2 separate regions of the Homo sapiens genome follow, and region 1 is linked to region 2. Evidence: promoter capture Hi-C in 16 types of primary human blood cells and fetal thymus (Javierre and others, 2016). All regions are on one chromosome and are shown on one strand. Each heading gives the region's core, a stretch centred on a gene start or on the middle of the fragment in contact. The rest is flanking DNA. Distances are from core to core; before and after follow the strand shown.

The links. The method cuts DNA at HindIII sites, captures the fragments that hold promoters and counts their contacts. A CHiCAGO score of 5 or more calls a contact.
Region 1: a fragment that was not itself captured here is called in contact with the fragment with the promoter of GPR62 in region 2 in 1 of 17 cell types (neutrophils); the score reaches 5.7 in neutrophils.

The regions. Positions count from the first base shown.
Region 1 is chr3:52,184,743-52,187,613 of GRCh38, reverse strand. No RefSeq gene overlaps it. Among named protein-coding and RNA genes, the nearest start is that of ALAS1, 12 kb to the left of the region's middle. RefSeq lists an enhancer at 2,260-2,871. The HindIII fragment of the contact is 3,900 bases long and covers 1-2,871 here.
Region 2 is chr3:51,953,869-51,956,720 of GRCh38, reverse strand. It overlaps GPR62 (G protein-coupled receptor 62), which reads right to left and starts at 1,340. Exons shown (of 1, transcript NM_080865.4): 1 at 1-1,340. The coding sequence starts at 1,068. RefSeq lists an enhancer at 92-680. The HindIII fragment of the contact is 13,748 bases long and covers 1-2,852 here.

The sequences.
Region 1 (2,871 bases), core at 269-2,768, 230 kb before region 2:
TGGTCAACATGGTGAAACCGTGTCTCTACTAAAAATACAAAAATTAGCCAGGCATGATGGTAGTCGCCTATAATCCCAGCTACTCTGGAGGCTGAGGCAGGAGAATTGCTTGAACCCGGGTGGCGGAAGTTGCAGTGAGCCGAGATCACGCCATTGTGCTCCAGCCTGGGTGACAGAGTGAAACTCCTCCATCTCAAAAAAAAAAAAAGAAGAAACAAAACCACCAGGTCAAATGTCAGAATCTTTTTTTTTTTTTTGAGACGGAGTCTCTCTCTGTTGCCCAGGCTGGAGTGTAGTAGCACGATCTCGGCTCACTGCAAGCTCCGCCTCCCGGGTTCACACCATTCTCCTGCCTCAGCTTCCCGAGCAGCTGGGACTACAGGCGCCCCACACCATGCCCAGCTAATTATTTTTTGTGTGTGTATTTTTAGTAGAGACGGGGTTTTACCACGTTAGCCAGGATGGTCTTGATCTCCTGACCTCGTGATCCCCGTCTCGGCCTCCCAAAGTGCTGGGATTACAGGGGTGAGCCACCGCGCCCGGCCAGGTCAGAATCTTTTATTCCAACTTTATGTTTTTTTTTCTTTTTCTCTCCTCTTGAATTGAGTGTGTTCTTGTGAGTGGCCTCAGATCCTTGATGGAGTGAGGCAGCTTCCAGGAAATGGATCAATAGGCTTTTTTTATTCAGCAAATACTTACTGTGTACCTACTGTTTGCCTAGTGTTGAACTAGGTTCCGGGATGGCAGCTATGAACAAGGTAGATGTAGTCCCTATTCTCGCGGAGTGGACACTTTGGTGGGGGAGACAGATGTCCAGAAGGACACGCCATCCAGACACATAATCTTGTGAGGGTGAGAGCTCACATGGTGCTCTGAGTGACAAGGACAGTGGCTGCTCTGTTTGGAGGCTTGGAGAGGCCTCTCTGAGGAGAGGATGTTTAGGGTGAGTCCTGAAGGAGAAGGAGCCAAGCTGGCGATGATTTGGGGTGGAGGAGGCCAGGAGCTGACCAGTGCCCCAGGCTGGGGGATCTAGTGCAACACTCTTGGTCACCTCCAGCTCTGGCCACTATGCTTTGGAATATGGGAGGGTTGGAAATAATCACCCATCCATGCCCAGTGCCAAGGAGGTGCTGGATAGATCTAATTATGATTACTATTATCATGACTGAAATGTGAGCAAGGAGGCATGGCAGAGAAGTTGGGGGGATATGGGGAGCCTTGGAAGCTGGGCTCCAGGCCCCCTTGGGAGGGGGCAATGCGGAGGAGCTGGAAGGCCATAGTCCTCCAAGCCTTCAGGGAACTTACATTATCTGGTGTAGCTGGTGGGAAGGGGGCATGGGGGCAGCTAAGGCAATCTGGGCCCAACTGAGGGGGCCCTGAGAACCATCCAAGGGATGGGTCTTGTTCTGTAGGCTTTGGGATTAGAAGACAGCTCTGAAGCCTTGGGACTCAACCCCGACTCATTAGGTGCCAGATCCAGCCTGGGGTTGGGGGAAGGCAGCCACAGTGTTTACCCAATCTCCAAAGCCCATCCAGCTTGATGCAGTGGCCTGGTTGTGACACCCCTCAGTGCTTCCCCCTAGCTAACGGCCATCAGCCCACTCAGCCTCCAGGTTCCTCTTTGCTGAGCTACTCACACCGGGGTCCACTGGGACTGTGCCTTCATTTCTCTGACCTGGGGAGTTGGAGAAGTTCAGCAGGGCTGGTGGCTCACAAGAGGTACCCAATGAGCATTTGTTGAATGAATGAATGAACATATGAATAAATGCATGAATGAATGGAGTGGGTAAATAAATGAGGATTATCTGTGAACTATGTGCAAGTGAGTGTGTGTGGGTGGGTCCTTAGGCCCCAGAGATAGGGCCGTTTGTGGGCCCAGAGATGGGGCCATTTGTGGGCAGGTTGTGTCAGCAAAGAGGTGAGTGTGGAAAGCTAGGGTCAGATGGCTGGTCAGCAGATGGCCTGGAGAAGGCCAGGGGAAATGGAGCAAGGCCATTTACTAGGGGCCCAGTTGAGCATCTTCAGGAGCCTTCCTTGGGGAGATCTGTAAGTGTCCATGTCCCGACACTCTGCCACTCCACTGCCACCCATGCATACGCAAGCTCCCATGGGCCCTCCCGGGTGTCTATGTCATCCTCTCCAATGGCTCTCCCTAAGCTCACCCTGGGATAGGCCACCTCTGATCTCAGCCTGGTCTGTGGACGGTGTGGTCAGGAGTCAACTGAAGCCCCTTGAAGCTCAGCTGGGGTGGAGGCTGCAGTCAGACCCTCGTTCCCCCTCCTGGTCCCTCTCCCGCTCTCTTCCTTGACCACCACCTCAGAAGATGACCATAGCTGTGCAGCAGAAGGGCTCTCACTCTATATTTGTGTAACAACATCTAGAAAATAGTTTTCCACAGCCTGCCTGTGTCTTAGCAGACAGAAGACTGCTGGCCACTCTGAAGTGACATTTCAAGTTTGGAAGTTCTTAGGGCCTAGTGTCTGGCAGCGTGGTCTGCTGGTCACATTCCTACGTGCACACCCTGAAGGTCTCTCAAATACATGCAGAATCCCAGGCCCACAGCTGCCCAGGGTCACAAACACCCTTTCACACATGGCCACATGGCCAACCACTCTGGTCATAGGGATAGCAGCACCTTGTGACAGTTAGATACATGGTGTAGTCACAGCGTGCCTCGGGGGCTGTGACCTTGTCACAGAGGCACACATGTGCAGCCATGGTGTGCCATGATTGGGACGTCATCATACATAGGGTCACACACACGGGCTGAGCTGTGCAGGGCCGCAGGGTTGCTCTGCTTCACCCCTCACCTCCACCTCCCTACCGCAAGTGCAGCCTGGCTCCCTGGGATCGTGATCCCTTCCCCTGCGC
Region 2 (2,852 bases), core at 91-2,590:
GCTCCGCCCTCCTGCCAACTCGGGGGTCTGTTCTGGAGCCTCAGAAGGGCCTACGGCAGGGCCCTCTGGGGGTCTCTGGAGGCATTGCAAGAGTGCCCGCGGGTGCCAGGCTTGCGGAGTGCAGGCCCGCACAGGTCCAGGCAGTGCACGGCGAGAGAGGCGGCCCAGTGCCAAGCGCACGGGGCGCTGCAGCAGCCCGTACAGGAAGGGGTGAGCCGCGAAGGCCGAGTAGGCGACCCAGGTGACAGCCGCTTCGGCTTCCGCGGCCCGCGCTGCGGGCGCCAGGCACGCGCAGCCATAAGGCAGCCAGCAGGCTGCAAATTGGCCCACGGCCAGCGCTGGGGCCAGGGCCGCCTTGCCCCCGGGCAGGCGAGGCCGGAGCGGCGGCAAGATGGAAAGGCGGCTATCCAGAGAGTCCGAGTGGAGTCGGGACCCGCGCGCCGGCCGTGGGGGCCTCAGGGCAGCGCGACGCGCCACCACGAAGATGCCGCCGTAGGCGCCGAGCAGCAGGAGGGCGGGCAGCGCGAAGGCCAGCAGGGCCCAGAGCGGCCGGAAGGGCCCGAGGCCCCCAGCCAGGACCGAGCAGCGAGCAGGAGCAGGGGGCGGTGCGGGCGGCGTGCCGAGCAGGGAGAGCGCGCCCAGCAGTCCCGCCGCGGCCCACACGGCGGTGAGCACGAGCACAGGCGGCGGCCGCGAGCCTGGCCGCAGCGGGTGCACGATGAGGCGGTAGCGTGCCAGGCCAAGTGCGGCCACCCCGAGCGTGCAGGCCGGCAGCAGAGCGGCGGAGAGGAAGCGAGCGGCGCGGCATGGCGCGGGGCCCAGGCGCACGCGGCCCAGCCCGGGCGGCGGTGCGGCCAGCAGGCCCAGCGGCATGATGGAGGCGGCCGCCAGCAGGTCCACGACGCACAGGTGCGCCAGGTAGAGCGCGTCGCGCAGTCCCGGCGTGCGCAGCACCACGACCAGCAGCGCGCCGTTGCCCAGCAGTGCCCCCACCTCCACGACAGCTGCCAGGATCAACCCCAACGAGCCTGCGACTTCTGAGGCGTTCAGCCCTGTGGAGTTGGCCATTTGGGCTCTCAGGCTTCACCCTGCGCTGGGATGTAGATGGCAGAATGGAGCCTAAAGCTGCAGGATTTCCATCACCTGTCCTCTGCTCCTCTTGTCCCTTGCTCCTCCGGCCCCTCACCTCATTGGCTGCCCAGGAGGTGGCTCCGACGCCCAGGCTGCCATCCTCTTGGGGGCTTGGCCAGGCCCATGGAGGGGTGCAAGGATGAGTCTGCTGTCTTTCTCCCCTGCCCCAGCCCAGCTCCAGCAACTCAGCCCCTGTCGGAGATGGTACTGGCTGTCACTCTGATGTTGCCACACACGGCTGGCAAGGGAGGGGCAGGGCCTGGCGCCAGCCCCCTGGGTCCTAGCAGCTGCCAGCTGAAGGCTGGAGGCTCTGCTGTGGAAGTGCTTGGGGGTGCCTCTAGGGTGGAGGGGTGGAGGACAGAGCAGGCACAGACTTGGAGCCTAGACTTGAGAGGGTTAGAGTGTGGGCTTTGGAGTCAGCCAGAGCCTGCTCTACCTTTCTCAGTGGTGAGAAGTGCCCCCCCCATCTCCTGTCCTGCCCCATCCTCATCAATGGGATGAGCATTTAGCTCTCATATTAAAGGGAAACTGAGGTACCAGTGAGACAAAAGCTGAAGCAGGAGGACCCTTAGGCATGCCCTGGCCCCCCAAGAGGGCTAGTTCTCTCAGAAAGAAAGGAGGCTGGAAAAGTGAGAGAAAAGCATAGAACGTGGCACATAGTAGGTGCTCAGCTAATATTAACTTCATAGAGAATAGGTGCTCCATGATAGTGTGTGAGATGAGTGAGAGGAGGCCTTAGCAGGCAGATGCTGTTTGGTTTTTTGTTGCTGTTGTTTGCTTTTGTTTTTGCTGCTAGCAAACAGGTCCCCTTTTGGTAACAGCACCCTGAATTTTCTTTCCTTTTTTTTTTTTTTTGAGACAGGGTCTCTGTTGCCCAGGCTGGAATGCAGTGGCACAATCTTGGCTCACTGTAATCTCTGCCTCCCAGGCTCAAACGATCCTCCCACCTCAGCCTCCTGAGTAGCTGGAACTACAGGCACGAGCCACCACACCTGGCTAAACACCCTGAATTTTCTTTAGGAAACCACCCCTCCCCAATTCTCAGGACAGGAAATTTGGGTGAACAAGATCCCCACACTCTATTTTCCTGATTAGGCACAAAACCCAGTCTTGACTAATCAGTGAATGTCAGGGTTCCCCACCCCAATGTCGTTGGCTCATGGAAAGCCATGTAACTCCCGTGGGGCATATGCCCCCAGGCAAAGTCACCCAGTTTCATGGCAAAACCCTATCTATAGTCTGATAGCTTGCATTTGTATCTGAAGCCTCTTCCTCTTTTCACGGGTATCCAGCTGCCTTTTCAACATTTCCCCACCAGGACTTTCACTAATGGGTATCTCAAACTTCCTATGTCCAAAACAGAACCATGACTCTTGATCCCTCCCCGACAACCTGCTCCTCCCAGAATCTTCTCCATCTTAGTGTCCATCTCAGGATGATTCCCTCTCCCCCACGCCCTATATCCAGTCCGCTGAGGTCTCTGGAATCCTGCCATTTCTCACCATCACCATCAAGCTGGTCCCAGCTACCACCACCTCTCACCTGGACCATTTCAGCATCCTTCTAACTGGTCTCCCGGCCTCAGCTCCTGCACCTTGTGCTGGCCATCTGCCTGTTTGCCCTCAGATTCATTCCCTTCTTCCCCAGTGCTATACTGCCTTCCTGGGAACTGTATTTCCCAGGCTCCTTTGTCAACTGACTTTGGGTATGTTCAGCCAATG